5 separate regions of the Homo sapiens genome follow, and all the other regions are linked to region 3. The links are contacts of gene promoters, found by promoter capture Hi-C in human tissues and cell types (Jung and others, 2019). All regions are on one chromosome and are shown on one strand. Each heading gives the region's core, a stretch centred on a gene start or on the middle of the fragment in contact. The rest is flanking DNA. Distances are from core to core; before and after follow the strand shown. Region 1 has its middle 60 kb from the start of SVIL-AS1. Region 2 overlaps SVIL (supervillin). Region 3 holds the start of BAMBI (BMP and activin membrane bound inhibitor). Region 4 has its middle 82 kb from the start of LYZL1. Region 5 has its middle 40 kb from the start of LYZL1.

The links. Contacts are between HindIII fragments. The study calls those that stand out against the background at their distance.
Region 1: a fragment that was not itself captured here is called in contact with the fragment with the promoter of BAMBI in region 3 in 4 of the 25 tissues and cell types used here (H1 embryonic stem cells, dorsolateral prefrontal cortex, mesenchymal stem cells and 1 more).
Region 2: a contact is called between a fragment that was not itself captured here and the fragment with the promoter of BAMBI in region 3, in 1 of the 25 tissues and cell types used here (mesendoderm cells).
Region 4: a contact is called between a fragment that was not itself captured here and the fragment with the promoter of BAMBI in region 3, in 2 of the 25 tissues and cell types used here (dorsolateral prefrontal cortex and lymphoblastoid cells).
Region 5: a contact is called between a fragment that was not itself captured here and the fragment with the promoter of BAMBI in region 3, in 2 of the 25 tissues and cell types used here (H1 embryonic stem cells and dorsolateral prefrontal cortex).

What each region holds. Positions count from the first base shown.
Region 1 is chr10:29,347,896-29,351,295 of GRCh38, forward strand. No RefSeq gene overlaps it. Among named protein-coding and RNA genes, the nearest start is that of SVIL-AS1, 60 kb to the right of the region's middle. The HindIII fragment of the contact is 9,519 bases long and covers 1-3,400 here.
Region 2 is chr10:29,461,913-29,465,391 of GRCh38, forward strand. SVIL (supervillin) reads right to left here. Exons shown (of 38, transcript NM_021738.3): 35 at 1,580-1,723; 36 at 365-489. All of the region lies in intron 2 of SVIL-AS1 (SVIL antisense RNA 1), which reads left to right. Among named protein-coding and RNA genes, the nearest start is that of SVIL-AS1, 54 kb to the left of the region's middle. The HindIII fragment of the contact is 8,599 bases long and covers 1-3,479 here.
Region 3 is chr10:28,676,219-28,679,742 of GRCh38, forward strand. It overlaps BAMBI (BMP and activin membrane bound inhibitor), which reads left to right and starts at 1,303. Exons shown (of 3, transcript NM_012342.3): 1 at 1,303-1,755. The coding sequence starts at 1,680. RefSeq lists silencers at 771-1,330, 2,056-2,200. The HindIII fragment of the contact is 33,369 bases long and covers 1-3,524 here.
Region 4 is chr10:29,205,132-29,208,361 of GRCh38, forward strand. No RefSeq gene overlaps it. Among named protein-coding and RNA genes, the nearest start is that of LYZL1, 82 kb to the right of the region's middle. RefSeq lists a silencer at 1,683-1,913. The HindIII fragment of the contact is 3,136 bases long and covers 1-2,962 here.
Region 5 is chr10:29,327,328-29,330,690 of GRCh38, forward strand. No RefSeq gene overlaps it. Among named protein-coding and RNA genes, the nearest start is that of LYZL1, 40 kb to the left of the region's middle. The HindIII fragment of the contact is 5,763 bases long and covers 1-3,363 here.

The sequences.
Region 1 (3,400 bases), core at 615-3,114, 670 kb after region 3:
GCTAAAATGCTAAGGGGAATTTTTGGTGTATTTTTGTCAGAATAGCTCAAAATATGAGCCTCTCCTGAATTCCAACAATCTTATTGGTATCAAGCTTGGTTCCCAATTTAACTCTCTGGTTCTTAGATTGACCAAATGAGTTCTCTGTGTTCAGTCAGAAATGCTATAAGAGAGTTTTAAGAGTTTCTGAGACAATTGTCAGGGTAATCATCACAGACAGGCTAAAACAAAGAAAAATAAATCATATCCCACTTTTCCAATCACTCTACCCAGATTGCTATCCTACCAACATCCCCTAAAGTATGTGATGCTATTGCTGTGACAGTTTAAAGAGTAAACCATCTGGGTCCCATTTCCATACAACTTTTGCTGACATTGATCATCTTATCCTAGGCTCTTCTCAGGTGAGATGAGCTCCTAGGGGTTCTCTAGCAGAAAATTTTCCGTGAGAGCGTCAATATCATCCTTCAATTCCTTCTTTGTTCCGTGGCTCTTCCTCATAGCAATGCTTCCTTCTTATCTACTCATCAGGCTAGCCTAGTTTTCATTCATTCATTCATTCTTCACTAGCTGTGATAGTTACTGAGTGACTATGACAGACAAGGTCCCTGCTCTTATAGAATTTACATTCTAGCAGAGCAGAGCAATCTAGCAATAAAACAAAAATTAATTATCAGGAGGCTCTTTGGGGTTTACCACAGTGGGAAGAGAAAGTGATTTAACTGACCCCAGAAAAAAAATATAACCCCTTAAGCATAAATGGTATAAGATGTAGAGGAACATGCAGGGTCCTGCTTTTACTAGGAAGCCAAGTGCCGGTCGTGCGGTGCCTTGCGAGGTCGTTCTTGGTCTGTAGAGTGGCTCTGTGCTGATGGGTCTACTTGTGCTCCATTCTCAGGCCCACTAAGTGACTTCTTTCCAGACAAGGACTTGTTTATATCTGAGGAATCTACTTCCATAATACGAAAGCTGGGGAGCTCACCACAGGAAGTTTCAGGATGCAAACCCAGGAAGAGAAGGGTGGACGCTCAGACCCCATCTGTTTGCACCAAGACATCTTTGCCAGCAGCCTTCACTTTCCTCGCCTTGGACCTTGGCCACATTATTGATTTCACAAGGTCTCAGGCTCCACCGACAGCCATTCAGAAGAAGGCCAGAGTGCATGTGGAATCACCGCTTTGCCACATGATGATCTGCTTAAGACAAAGTCTACACTGCAGTAGAGCCAGGCAGGAGTTTAAGACCAGCCTGGCCAACATGGTGAAACCCCATCTCTACTAAAAGTATAAAAATTAATTGGGTGTGGTGGTGGGCACCTGTAATCCCAGCTATTCAGGAGGCTGAGGCAGGAGAATCGCTTGAACCCAGGAGGTGGAGCTTGCAGTGAGCCAAGATCATGCCACTGCATTCCAGCCTGGGCAACAGAGTGAGACTCTGTCTCAGAAAAAAAATACACAAAATATATGAACAAGTTAATTTTTAATTGCTTTTATAAAAATGAGGTCTCACTATGTTGCCCAGGCTGTTCTCAAACTCCTGGCCTCAAGCAATCCTCCCTGCCCTGGCCTCCCAAAGTGCTGGAATAACAGGCATGAGCCACCATGCCTAGCCAAGTCAATTTACTAAAAGTCAGCTCAGTATATACCCAAAGGAATATAAATCAATCCTTCTAGTATAAAGATACATGCACACATATAGCACTATTTACAATAGCAAAGTCATGGAATCAACCTAAATGCCTATCAGTGATAGACTGGATAAAGAAAATGTGGTACATATACATCATGGAATACTATGCAGCCAAAAAAAGGAATGAGATCATGTTGCAGGGACATGGATGGAGTCGGAAGCCATTATTCTCAGCAAACTAATGCAGGAACAGAAAACCAAACACTGCATGATCTCACTTATAAGTAGGAGCTGATTGATGAGAACACATGGACCTGTGGTGGGGAAAAACACACACTGGGCATCTGTAGGGGCAGGAAGGGAGAGCATCAGGAAGAATAACCAATTGATGCAGGGCTTAATACCTGGATGATGGGATGATCTGTGTAGTAAACCACCATGGCACACATTTACCTGCACACGTACCCCTGAACTTAAAATAAAAATTGGAAGACAAAAAAAGGAACTGATGAATAAGATCAAATAAAATCATTGTTGATTGAAGTTAAAAAAAAAGTCAGCCCAGTAGAAAATGGACAAAATGCTTGAAATGCCACTTCATAAATGAGAGTAATATTCAAATGGCTAGTAAACATATTAAAAATGCTCAATTTTGTTTGTAATCAAGGAAATGCACATTGAAATCATAGAGATGCAATTCCACACTACCAAAATGGCTAAAATTTAAATTAAAATTGCCAAATATTGGCAAGAATATGTAACAACTTGAACACTCCCACACTATTCATTAGAGTGCTAATTGGTACAAACCCTTAGGAAAATGGTTTGGAAATTATTACTAAAGCTAACATATACATACCCTTCGACTCAGCAACTCCACTCTGGGTTTTCATGCCCAACAGAAATGTGTTCACTAATAAACACTTACCTGAATTTTTTTAGGAGTGCTGTTCATTGGAGCTAAAAACTGAAAATTACCCAGGTGCACGGCAATGGTAGCATGAATGAATACATTACGCGATATTCACACAATGGAATACAGGTTGAGTATCCCTTATCCAAGTGCTTGGGACCAGAAATGTTTCAGATTTTTAATTTTTCAGGTCTTGGAATAGTTGCATTAAACTCACTGGTGGAACATGCCAAATCCAAAAATCTGAAATCTCAATCTCAATCTAAATGCTCCAATGAGCATTTCCTTTCAGCATCATGTGGGTGCTCAACAAGTTTCAGATTTTGCAGCATTTTGGACTTCAGATTTTCAGATTTGGGATGTTCAACCTATACTGTACAACAGTGAGAAAGAATCACGTACTCACAAAAATATGGATGAATATGACAGCCATACTATGGAGGAAAAGAAACCAGACATTAAAAGTCTGGTATACACTGCATGATTCCATTTCTATAAAGTACACAAACAGACAGGATAATGATTACCCCACTTAGGATTAGTGCCTGGGAGATAACACAAAAGAGAACTGGTAACATTGTATTTCTTGCTCTGGGTTCTGGTTTTATGGATGTGTTCAGTTTGTGAAAATTCATTGAGACTACGATGTGTGCTCATTTCCGTATGTATATTACATTTCAATAAAAAGTACCACAAAACCTATATACCACTGTTGCTCCTGCTTCTGTTCTTGTGGACACCACACACAGTAAAAGCACATATATCAACTTTCCAAGTCGACATGTAATTCAAGACATACAGTGCACTTTAAGCCTGCCATGAATATATTTTGTAGAATAATGTAAGAATCGGAGAAAT
Region 2 (3,479 bases), core at 835-3,334, 790 kb after region 3:
GTTTGGTTGTGCGTCACATGGACACTGAGAGACAAGCAATGCCAAGCAACAGGTTCTTAGCAAACAGAATGAAGAGTTCGCAGCTTTTATGTACATATATAGTCCTCAACATGATTCAACTCACCTTTGCTTTTAAGTTTTTAAAATTTGGGTATCGTGTAGAAAATTACTAAAATAGTTAATTGATTTTCCATTAGACTTCTCTTCTTCCTAAGCAAATTCTATGTAGGTTTGTTAAGATGTTGCAAAAGGAAAAATATTTTCCCACTCTGAAAGTGCAATTGGATGCTCTCCCCAAAGTAAAGTTAACCCACAATCCAAAAGGCGCAGGAGCCACCTTCATAGGGCAGGAAAGCGTGCTCACCATCTCTGTGATCTCAGCGATGTCCTCTCTGTGCTCCCAGCTGGGAAACATATTGGTGAATGTCAGGGGCTCCAGACCAGCGTGGATAAGGTAAGACTTGGGGGCTGGTTTCTTGAGATTTTTTCCTGTAGTTACACAGATTGCAATGTCAGTAGACCCCAGGGAGACCCTGTCTTTCTCTGATTTCCCTTGAAATCTTTTCTTCTTTGCCAGAACTCATGACTTCATGCTTAAAATGCAAGTTACCAGTAGTTCATAACAACACATGGATAATGTTTATATAAGATGTTTGTTAGTTTCATGCCTGTGACTACCATAGTGACCTATAATCAACCTGAGTCTATACTTCTTGAACCTAACAAAACGCTGTGTATTCCTGGAAGGGAGAGAGAGGCTCTGTCTGCAGCTTCTGGGTGGAGCATTTTCTTCCTCCTGAATTCACCTGTAGAGTCATCCGTCTCATTTCCTAGCACAGGATTAACTCCCATAATGACTGACGGCGAACGACAGCATCTTATACATCCACATTCACTATAACATTGAGTGGAAGGTTTCATATGTTATTTATTGCTAAAGAGTTTTTCAGGAAGAGAATCCATTGCACATACTCAGTGACATTAAACTAGTTGTGTCAATGAAACCATAAAAATTAAATAAGATTAATTACTGGCATTTTCATTTTATATAAAAGACTAGAAATTTCATGTGTATAGTAAAGAACCATGAACTTACTATGGGTATTTCTCTTTGGATATAATACTAAAAATAATAATGAATAATAAAAAGGTTGGCAATGGCCGTTCACTGTTTGGGGGAGACCTCCATTCTCCAACAGCGTGGTAGTGCTTGCAGATAATGTACAGGGCAGAGGCCAACTTGTCTCTCAGCATGATCAACCCCGAGTACAGCGGGGTTTTAATCTGCCTGGGGCATTCCACAATACAGCCTTTATCCTTGAGGGTAACAAGTTAGCCTCATAATATCAGAGAGAAAAACTAGTTCTTCTTCATGCTGGCAGCTGAGAATGCGCTAATCTAAAACTTAATACATCTCAAAAAGTTAAAGGGGAAAAAATTGGTTTCATCACCACCTGCCAGGCTTTATGGATGGATGCTGGCTGACATGCACAGAAGGGGAAGGGGGTCTCCTGGCTGCGCATGCCTGAGGGGCTTCCCCATCTGTTCCGTGCTGCAGGCATGTTAGAGGGAGCCTCACCTTTGCAGTACTGGAGCACAGTCTCCATCGCACTCTTCCGGTCGGAGGCCCAGCGGATGCGGGCGGAACCAGTGATCTTGTTCTCGATGGGCCACCAGCCTTGCCAGAGGTACACCTCGTGGTGATTGTCAACAAGGAAAAGTGCTGTGAGGGCAGGGACAGGGCCAGACCATCAGGAGCTCCTTCACGGACACTTCTAGCTCACTCCTCCCCCAACCTAGTGGATGTTGTCCCTCTTGACTGCAGTGTCACAGGGGGAAACCCCCTTGGCCATCAAACCAGGGGCAAAGGGGCAAACAGAGAAACCCAGGATACCCCAGCCCTTTGACAGTTCAACGGGGAGAAGCCTGTAGGCAGAGAGAAGTGGTGTCAAGGAGTTGGTCTTTTTCATTCCTCGTCCTCCAGGTCCTCCTCCCTTTGCCCCAGCTCAAGGCCCTGGCCCTTCTGGATACTGGCAGGGCTGTGCTAAGAGTGGAAGGGATAATGCATGTGCCACTCAAGGGGCTGTTAGCACCGCATATCTCCAAAGAGCACAATCAACACTGGAGCGCACATCTCACTGCAGACAGGTCAGTGGCGTTCCTGCCCTGCACGCGATTGCTTAGCAGTGAGGTGAGCTCATGGCTCTCTTACAGAGAAATGGGCCTTAAAAAGCAAAACTGCCACCGGGAGTGGTGGCTCATGCCTGTAATCCCAGTGCTTTGGGAGGCTGAGGAGGAAGGACTGCTTGAGCCCGGAGGTTGAAGACCAGCCTGGGCCACATGATGAGACCCTATCTCTACAAAAAGAAAAAAAAAATTAGCGAGGCATGGTGCTGCATGCATGTAGTCTCCACTACTCAGGAAGCTAAGGAGAGAGGATCGCTTGAGCCCAAGAGTTAGAGGCTGCAGTGAGCCATGACTGCGCCACTGCACTCCAGCCTGGATGACAGAGTAAGACCCTGTCTCTAAAAAATAAAATAAAAGGAAATAAAAATCAAAACTGTTCTACTGCCTTTTCCTCCTACCTTTTTCTCCTCCTCAAATTGTCAGTCTGACTCTTACTCCAGGTGGCAAAATGCCTCTCACTCTTGCTAGTCGGCTCACTGTAAGTCCTTTCCTGACATGCATTTCAGGATTCTGTGAAAACCACACTTTAAAAGCCCAGTGGAGGTTGATAACCCGCCCTGAGCCCCAGGATGAAGGGCGTGGGCACACCCTCTCTTACTGGTGGCTGATTTTCCAAGCATGACATGTGCACTGGGCAAACTTTCAGTGCTGCCCTGAGATCCCGGTGCAAGATGAGGTCCCTGGCTGCAGCTCCAGGCTCTTGTAATGTGAGAAGCAACAAACACAAACTGAGAGGCAGCTGACCTTGGCTTCATTGGAGGGTGGGTGGGAGGGGTTGTCAAGCCCAGTCTCTTGTTACTTTCCCAACCAGAATGAGGGCACAGAGCCCTGACCTTGGGATCAGAAGACCTGGGCTGGAGTCTTGGCTCTGCTGTGGAGACTTGGTATGGCAGACCCTGTTCCCTGGCTAACTTAGCCAATACCCCAACATCCTTCTCCTCTGCCATTTGCTTCCCCAGGCTCCCTTGCAGCTGGGGCTGGCCATGTGACAGGCTCCGGCCAATGGGATGTAAGCAGAAGTCTGCTGGGGGCTTCTGGGAAAACACGTGCTTTATCTGATTAAAGAGAGAGAGTGGCTATTAGGTGGGCTTTTTTCCTTCCCCTTTCTTTCTCTTTCTATCTTGAATGCAAACATAATGGCTGGAGCAATGGCAGTCGACGGGTGACCATGCAGCAACAAGACTGAGAGGAAGGCTGGGAAAAGAGCGGAGACGCCAGGCCTGCCGCTGTGGTGCTCAACCTGTTCTTAGCTGACGTCTTTGGGTGGGTTAAGTGACTTGAGTCTCGTTCCT
Region 3 (3,524 bases), core at 53-2,552:
CAAAGACAATTTCATTAACTACATCCTGCAGCTCTGCAGACTTTCAACAACTTTAAAAGGTTAGGCGTTTGAGATATGTTCGCCTTGACTTTCAGTCCTCAAGACATATGTACATTTTTCTTAGTCTCAAAGCTCATGTCTGCACTCTAGTCCTAAAGGATTTGTCTTTATAATTCTCACCTTAGCATGAAATGTGCTTCTCTTTCTTTCCTTCCCCACCCCCCACCCCCTTTTGACATATCCGGTAGGGAAGCTCTGGCAGATTCTCAAGAAGAATTTTGCAAATGGTCGACTTTTGTTCATCTCAGGTTTTGGAGGGAGAGGATAAAAGAACATTCCCTCAGATAATGAGTTTTAACCTTAATTCCTTCCAAAGCGGAGGGGGAAACAAAACTACAGCAAGACCACCTTGAGTACCTTGGGAAGGGCAGCCCCGCGATCCCTAATAAATGAATTAGCATCTCAAGGAGGAGATCACTGCGGGGCTGATATTGATCAGGGTCAGCCGGCGTGTTTGCCAGCCATTGTTTGGGGGGTGGTTAATTGAGTGTCAGTCTCGGCCAGTGTCGTCTCGTTGGCGCCGGGTGCTTTTGGATTTGCTAATTTTCGTTAAGTGTCTCTAGCCCGCTACTCGTCCCGCGTACCCGGGAGAACCTAGCGGCTCCTAACGGATCAACAGTCAGTCTGTCTGGGCTTTATTGATCCCATGGCGGGCAGCTCGAGGCGGACACGCTGAGGGGGTGGGGGGCGAAGGCTGAATGCAGACCCCAGCGCTGGGCCGCCTCCCCCGGGCTCCCACCCGAACCCTCCTCCGCCACCTGCACAGGCCGGGGCATTGTCACTCGCCCCTGGGGGTTCCAGAAAACGCAGTGCGGCCGGGGAGGACGACCACACGGACCCCCTGCGTGTTTCGGGGGGCACCCAAAAGAAGCCCCGCGCTGGGGAACGCTGACCACCCGAGGCTGAGCCGTCAGGGTCTCGGAGGCGGGTTCCCGAGCCGGTCCCGGGGCTGGGCTCCCCCGGCGCCTCGCGAAGGTCACTGACGCGCAGGCCTCCGCAAGGGGGAGCGCGGGAGACGGCAGCGCACCAGCCGGGCGCCCCAGCCGGGCGCCCCAGACGCCGGCGCCGCTCGGAGCCGCCGGGCAGGTCCCCCAGCGCTCGCGTCTGGGCCCGCCCCCCGCTGCGGGGCGGATTGACAGGAGCCCGGCGGCCAATCGGACGCCGTGGGGCGGGGCGAGGCGGGGCGGTGCAGGCCGGCTCCCGGCGCGGGGCGCTATTTACGGCGCGGAGCCGGAGAGACCTGGGCTGGCGCGGGCGGGAGCTGCGGCGGATACCCTTGCGTGCTGTGGAGACCCTACTCTCTTCGCTGAGAACGGCCGCTAGCGGGGACTGAAGGCCGGGAGCCCACTCCCGACCCGGGGCTAGCGTGCGTCCCTAGAGTCGAGCGGGGCAAGGGAGCCAGTGGCCGCCGACGGGGGACCGGGAAACTTTTCTGGGCTCCTGGGCGCGCCCTGTAGCCGCGCTCCATGCTCCGGCAGCGGCCCGAAACCCAGCCCCGCCGCTGACGGCGCCCGCCGCTCCGGGCAGGGCCCATGCCCTGCGCGCTCCGGGGGTCGTAGGCTGCCGCCGAGCCGGGGCTCCGGAAGCCGGCGGGGGCGCCGCGGCCGTGCGGGGCGTCAATGGATCGCCACTCCAGCTACATCTTCATCTGGCTGCAGCTGGAGCTCTGCGCCATGGCCGTGCTGCTCACCAAAGGTGGGTGCCGGGGGCGCACGGGGCCCGGGGTCCCGTCCTCGCCGCGGGGCTTTGGAGCCGGCTGCAGAGGCTTTGTTAGCGGCAGGCGAGGCTCCCTCCTGCGCCGGAGCCGCAGGTCGCGACAAGTTGCTGTGTTCTTAGAAGTCGCGGCGGTGGCCTGGCGCGTGGATGCGGACTCCGATCTAAGGGCAGGCGCTGATCAGAGGGTCCTCCTGGCTCTGCCTGCGGGGAGCGGCGCGTTTGCAGCCCAGCGGGGAGCGGGGCCGGAGTCTCGGCCTCGACGCCGCCGCTTCCGCACCCTGGGGGCTCGGGCGGCCGGGAGGAATCGCAGATCCTGGCCTGTAGCTGCCGCGTGCCCTCAGCGTGTCTGTGTGAGTGCCTCAGGGTGTATTTCTGTGAGTGTGTCTCTGAGTCTCAGTATCCCTAAATGCATTTTTGTGTCTCTGAGTGTCGTTGTGTTTCTGAAAGTGTGTCTGAACCTCTGTATCACTCAGCGTATCTCTGTGTCTCTTTGAATGTATCTCTGAATGCATTTCTGTGTCTCTTTCTGAGTCTTTGTGTCTCTGAATGTGTGAGTCTCTGTATCTCTGATCTTGAGTGTGTCTTTCTGAATGCATTTCTGTGTCTGTCTCTAAGTGTCTTTGTATCTCTGAATGTGCATCTGAGTCTCTGTGTGAGTGTGTCTCTGCGTACATCTCTCTGTGTGCGAGCGAGTGTGTGGGTCTCCCTGAGAGTTTAGGTGTCCGAGGTGTGCAGAAGTGTGTGTTGTGTTGCTTTTCAGCAGCCGGGAGGAGTAGGCTCTGTCAGCGTCTCACTGCCACTCACCTCATATTTTACAAACAGGACCAAAAAAAAAAAAAAGGCAGCGGGTCAGTTTCTTCTTTCCTCTGCAGGCTTTCACCTTTTAGAAAGAAATAACCCGAACTGTCTCCGAATTTCAAGGTTCTCCTCACCTCCCTGCTGTGAAATCTACCTACTGTTCTGTGAACAGATAATTTTTTTAAGTAGGAAGCAGTTTAGTCTTTGCAGCCCCCTACTTCTCTTTAATTGCTATGTAGCAGGCATGAGGTTAAAGCATAAGCTAGCCCAGCGAGGATGATGTGCTACAGTATTTATTTATTTTGGAAGGAAGGGTGTAATTAACCCTAAATAACAGCCCTTGTGGCTTGCAGAGGGGAGCCTCCTGGCCCTATCAAAGGCGGGCAGAACAGGGAGGGACTGAGGCTGACATGAAGTCACAGATACCGAAACTATGTGCCTGATAATGATATAATTAGGGGATCAGAGATTTCTGACGGCTGCGGACTTCAAAAGCTTTAAAAGAAGCCAGCAGTCTCTCCTGTAGCCATCTTGACTAAAGCAGACATTTTTGTTTAATCACTACATACAGTAACGAGAAGGGGACAGAAACAGAAGGGCATTGTTCCACAGTTTCAAAATACCAGTCCCCTTTCTGGCCTTTTGCATGCCACAGGAAGAAACTTTATGAACGACAGAAATATAGTTTTAATACAGTGGTACAAAAGTCCATTCTCCTTGCTTAAAATGTGGCTCCAATTAAAAAAAAAAGGTAGTTAGAACTTTCCCAGTTACCTGTCAAAATTTTATTAGGCTGTTTTTAGGTCATTGAAAATAGGCTCTCATAAACATTTAAGCAGCATTTTACTTGTATTCAGTCTTCCTTTTCTGTACAAGGTCTGAAGCTAATAGGGTCAAAATGGGCTTTTAATCTGTTTTATTTATACTTTAAATCTATATATGGAATTTGT
Region 4 (3,230 bases), core at 145-2,644, 530 kb after region 3:
TTTGCCCAGTGCATCTTAAAGTTGCTGTCTTTACACCAGGATGCGGCAAGAGTGCTTCCTAAGAAATGAGGCTTCACTGATAGAAAAAGATTTAGAATGGGGGACGTGACTGATTCTATATCTCTTTTTATTATTTTTTCCTTTATTTTTAATTTTTTCTTTAAAAGATGGAGTCTTGCTCTGTTGCCCAGGTTAGAATGCAGTGGTATGATCGTAGCTCACTGCAGCCTCAAACTCCTGGGCTCAGGTGATCCTCCCATCTCAGAGGGTTTTAGGGATGCAGTTAGTCTCCTGAGTAGCTGAGACTTCAGGCACCTGTCACCATGCCCAGCTGTTTTTTCACTTTTTGTAGAGATGGGTTCTCACTATATTGCCCGGGCTGGCCTCCAACTCCTGGTCTCATGCGATCTTCCCATCTCAGCCTCCTGAGTAGCTGAGACTACAGGCATGCACTGCCATGCCTGGCTAAAGATGCTGTATCTTTTGATGTTAAAATCACAGCTCAATGACAAGATTTTTCTTTCTACCAGACAAGTTTTCATCATGTGAACTGGATAGAAGAAATCAGTTCATTAGAGTGTATTTTTGCTTTATGTGACTTCTGAGCATGCTATGGGCTGATAGTGTGGTCTCAACTGGGAGATAGCCTGGTGTGCAGCAGTCAGCCCAGAGCACACAGCGACCACTCGGGGCCATTGTTTTCCTTTGATTTTCACTGATGGTTGTCAATGCTGGCTTCCTTTTACTTTTCCAGCGTCAGAACTTGTTGATTTTCGTCTGGGCTTACGTGCAGTTCAGAATTTGCTCAATGTTTAGTTTCCTTTCCCCCTCCTCCCATTTATGATAAACCTGTTTATTATTTTTAGGTTGCAAAATCAAAATAAGCTTACAAAGACATCTTTGCTGTTGAAATTCCTGCTGAAAATAAACAACTTTGTAGCTGGGAGCCTGAAACTCTAGCTTCTAACCACTCCCTCATACCATCACCACCAACTTTTTCTCATTGAAATGACCTATACAGATTGTGATTAAAAAATAATACTGCAAAGGGTTTTAGGGATGCAGTTTTCCTATTACAGCAGTAGTCAGCTTGGGATATTATTGTTTTGCAAGACTTTGATAAGCTAAAGTGAATTCCAAGATGCACAGAAGGGTGCAGGTCTAGAAATCAATTGGAAGGAGCAGAAGGGATTAAGGCTGTTGGGCTCACAGAGAAGTGGAAGGTCCGTCATGCAGATGTATTTTTTAGACCTAATCTGTGTTTCTGCAGGACGCAGACCACAAGGTCAATGTTTTAGGGAATGAGATTTCAGCTCTGTGCAAGCAAGAGTTTTCTAATAATTAGAGGAGAGCAGAAAAGAAATGGGCTGCTTTGAGAGGGAGTGATCTCCACATCCATGAGCGAATCCAAGCAGAAAGTAGATAACCTCGTGTCGAGAAGTTTAGAAAAGGATTCTCTCTTATAACGCTGAGATGTGTTCTCCACTATGATCTCAAGAGTGTCAGAGGGTACACAGGTAAGAGGGAGAGGGTCAGAGGCAGATAAACAGTAGAGAATCATGCTGAATGCAACAAGCCAGACACGAGAGACCACAAAACTGTCTCAGATGGAGAGCTTTGCACACTTCTGCAAGATCGGCTTCTCCAGACCCATGGACTCCTCTGTGAGCCAAACTTCTTTGCTCTTCTCCACTCCCTGACTTGATTTCTACACCTTTCACCCTTCTGGTCCCATCTTGGAATTCAATTATGCTATCAAAATTTCTCCCCTGACAGAGTCTGGAATGTCTTCTCTAATGGGCCCGCACTGAATGCCTCAAGCTCTGATCCTGCAGGAACAGATCCCACCAGGGATTCTTGGTGAAGCCACACCATGCATTAAGAAAAATTACCTGGGCCAGGCGCAGTGGCTCATGCCTGTAATCTCAGCACTTTGGGAAGCTGAGGCAGGAGGATGTCTTGAGCAGGTGTTCGAGACCAGCTTGGGCAACATAGCGAGACCTCATGTCTACAAAAAATTAAAAAATTAGGCATTTTGTCACATGCCAGTAGTCCCAGCTGTTTGGGAGGCTGAGTCAGGATGATCGCTTGAGTCCTGGAATTCGAGGTTGCAGTGAGCTCTGATCGTGACACTGCACTCCAGCCTGGGTAACAAAATAAGACCCTGTCTCAAAAAAATAATAATAAATAAATAAATAAATAAACAAAGCAAAGCTAAACTACCTGGAGCACCTGCCCCTGTCATGTGCATTTGGGCCCTGACTCACTAGTGGGGATCACTAAAGACCTCACTGGCCTGCCTGGTGGTGTGACAGGAAGGCTTGGCGTTTCTGCAAGTGAGACTTGAATGCGTTGGTCTGAGAAACTCCAACTACATGAAGGCAGATGCTTCGCCTCTTGGTTTCTCAACCAAATTGTGCTCCAGGGGACTCCTAATCCACATCTTTCCTACTAATTTACCCTTCATTCATCAAAATATGATTTCATAAGAGTGTTTTGATGTCTAAGAAGTCTGAGTCTCATGAGTCTCTTAAGCCCTTTCCTGCTTTGTATCATGAAATTGTGTGCTCCCAGTGTTTAGTGGCACTAGGAGCTGGGAGAGTAGCCTTGTAAACAGTTCTCTGCCCAATACTTGCAGGCCAATTGTGATTATGCCAGGTAGCAAGAAGGCAAGCCATTTTTCTTTACATTATTCATTGGGCCCTCCTTCTAGGGAGGGTCCACCTCCATTGGAAATTTAGTAAACCATACCATTCATTCACTCTCTCAATCAACAACTTTTAAATAAGCATGTACTATGAACCAGGCATTGTCCCAGTGGTAGGCATCCAACATGAACTACACTCAGCTCTAGCTCTTAAAGAGCTCACATACTAGCAAAGAAGATATTTGTGCAAATAAGACCATCACCACCAGGGTGGTAAGTCCAGATCTGATAAAATGCAGTGTAGTATGGAATGAAGGATGCGCACCTACCCAGGCTAGGGTAGAAAAGAGATAGTCAGGAAAGACTTTTGAAGATGCCCAGAAATGATCACGTCTAATAAATAGAGGTGGTCAGAAAATAAATGGACTCCCTTGTGAGGGATCTCCACATGAAGTCATCTTGTGATACAAAGTGTAAATTCTCAACTGTTTTTTAATGTCTCTTGCACCAGCCAATTACAATATTTTATAGATAGAGAAAGCACAAAGGAGAAGGTGGAAAGAAAAGAAGGAACATAAAAGTT
Region 5 (3,363 bases), core at 395-2,894, 650 kb after region 3:
CATGTGACATGTGGAGTTGCAAGCTTCTGGGAAATTTGGTTTCTATTAACTGCACAAGCAATAGTTTTGGTCATTGTTGTTGATGTTGTGTGTGTATGCATTACGTTTAATGGGCACCCAGTGCAATGGCAGTAATAAAAATGGAACAGAACAAGTATGTGAAGGAATTAAAGCTAGAACTTACCAGTGTAAGTTTATTTCTAGTTGATTTTTGAAAAAAATAAAGCCAAATATTTGCAGGTCCCAGGCGCTCTGAAGTCTGTAGTTTCCCACCCTTACAGACAGCACCCCATGGTGTGTCAACTTTCTCATTTCAAAGTCCAAAGCATCCTAAAGCAAACATGAACCTCACAGTGAAATGGCCTCACTCTGATTTACACATCATTATTTCTCCAACTGTTGATTTAGTCCAGTCTTCCCTGATGGCATCTTCTAAAGGAAAGCTTCTTCATATTCTTCCCCAGGAGACAGTCAAGGCTGTCCACGGACAAGCGGGTTGAGACAGCATATTCCGTGCTGAATCTGAGGGCATAAGAAATTTGCTTGTGCTTTCTCCTATTTCAGTTCTGTAACCTCCATTCCAATGCAGTCATGTGAATCGTTTGCTTCTTTGGGTTAGTAATAGATGTTGCCGTTTATTGGCCACGTATATACTCAGCCCTCCCCTTATGGAGAGGCAACTGGAGAAACTGAGGTCTTTATCCAATGACCTGCTCCATGCCAGCATTTCTGTAATTGGGGGTTGGGACATCTGAGCTACAGGAACTTCTGAGAGTCCTAAGGCGGTGAGATATTGCTATAGTGACCACCAACATCAATGTTTGAAACATTTATAAAATAATAATAGTAGCTACATATAACTAAGAACTCACTATACCAGGAATCTTTCATACATTACCTTTATTTCTCAGACAACTCACCCTACATAGGAGGAGTCTAAGGCTGTAGACATTCAGGAAGCTTGGAAAGACCTTGCAGGTGGTAAAGGGCAGAACCAGAACTTGCATCCATGTATCCTTTTGACTTTGAAGCCTGTTTTTCCCTGGACCTCAGGGATGAGATAAGATGCCCAGCATCTATCCACTTCTTCACGCCTCCTCACACTCTTCCTTTTCTTATTCTTCAGCTCAAAGATCTGAGGTAGTATCAAGAGAGGACCATCCCTGGTGGGGGTCAGTGGCTCATATCTATAATCACAACACTTTGGGAGGTTGAAGCAGGAGGATTGCTTGAAGCCAAGAGTTCAAGACCAGACTGGGTAACATAGCAAGATCTCCTTCTCTATTTAAAAAAAATATATTTTAAAAAAGACAGCTGGGAACAGTGGCTCACGCCTGTGATCACAGCACTTTGGGAGGCCGAAGCAGGCAGATCACCTGAGGTCAGGAGTTCAAGACCAGCCTGATCAACATGGTGAAACCCCGTCTCTACAAAAATACAAAAAATAGCCAGGCATGATGGCAGATGCCTTTAATCCTACTTACTCAGGAGCCTGAGGCAGGAGAATCACTTAAACCTAGGAGGCAGAGGTTGCAGTGAGCCAAGATCGCGCCATTGTCCTCCAGCCTGGGTGACAGAGTGAGACTTCTTTTCAAAAAAAAAAAAAAAAAAGAGGGAACCATCCCTGAAAGTCTTCAAACAGTTGGTTAGCAGCTGTGAAACTTATGTGACTCCACCTTAAAATGAGGTGGTTTGTTTGATGTCTACCATTCGTACTGAAGGATAATTTGGAATATGGATAATCATAATATTTCTTATGGAAGCAGTCATGACCTAAAACTCTGGCAACTGCCATTGCCCTGGCGTGCTTTCCAAATGAGAACAGAGAAGATGCCTGGGATGACTTCCCACATTCCTGAGTGAGCTGCATGCTCGTGGTCTACTGCTTACCCCAGGTCATCTCTGCAGCAGCTCAGCAGCACCTTCCATCTACTGCCCCAAACATCACCCACATTTTGGTCTCCCCCACCTCCTCCCATTTTTGCAAAGCCAATTGGCTCTCATTATTCTGAACCAATCTTGCCTAGCTGTGTAACCACCACTTGAGAGAAAGTTAATTTTATACTCAGTGCATTTACTTCTATTTGAAATAGATATTAAGGGCGCTCTGCTTTCTAAATTCTCCCCAAGTGAAACAGAGCTCTCTATGAGGCCCCTGAGAACAACAGAGCATTAACACAATTCCTGCCCTGAAGACGTTGTGTCTCCTCTTAGGTCAAGAGCCAATAAGCACATAATTGGCCCTTAATTGTATGAACTGTATTCCCGGTGCTTTTCACAGCACATGGCATTGCGTAAGGGTCAACATGGCTTGCTGATTTATGTGTTGATCTCTCTCTCTCTCTGTGTGTGTGTGTGTGTGCGTGTGTGTGTGTGTGTGTGTGTGTGAAGAGAGAGAAGGGGATTTGGCAGTGATGGGAGGCCACAGCAAGGGGGGCACCAAGAATTAGATAACTCCTATAATCAGTGTTGTTTACTATTCATTAGCAAGAGAAAATACAATTGCAAGAAAATCCATTTATGATTATAGAGGAGAATGGAACTATGCATTCCAGATTTTTTTCCAACAAAACATTCAGACACAACTTACATTCACACTTTTCCCCTAGAAGTAATAATTAGCAAACAGCTGTCAGAAGGTTTGTTGACAACCTTTCTAATGTCAATGTCTTTCAAAAGACCCACTTCTTTGCAATGCCTCCACCCACCGGCTGGCTGAGGTCAAAGGAACATGGAGTGCGCGTGTGTATCTATGCCTGTCTGTATTTTCCACCATATTCTTCTTTCTCTTTCTCCCTCTTCCTTCCCCTCTTATTATTGTAGCATCCAGGTTTTGTCAATTATCAAACACTCAAACACTACATACACACATCCTTACATAAAATAATTCAATGAAGTGAAAAGAAAGTCCCATATCTTCCTCTCTGTTAGCACCATGGGTTAATGGAATGAACACTGAACTTCGGAATCAGAGACTTGGTTTCAAGTTCTAGATTCATTCACTTGCTAACTGTGTGATGGAAATTAGTTTAATCTCTGCAGTTGACTCCTCTGTAAAGTAAGATACTTAACTCATGGCATTATTCTTAGGATTAAAGAAACAAATGTGAATATGAACAAATGAACATAGTTTCTGATGTTCAATAAATACTCAACATACATTTCATTCCTGTCTGGTTTTTCCAGTGGCAGAAAAGATAACACACCAAAACCTTAGCCTGTTCATCAGGAAAGCCTAGACTTCAGATAAAGAACAAATGGAAGACTTGTTTAGAACACTGGCTCCAGTTTTTTTTTTTTTTTCAGTTATAGTTCCTAGCTCTATCCTAATGGATGATACTAATTTTGGAGAGAGTGAAGATT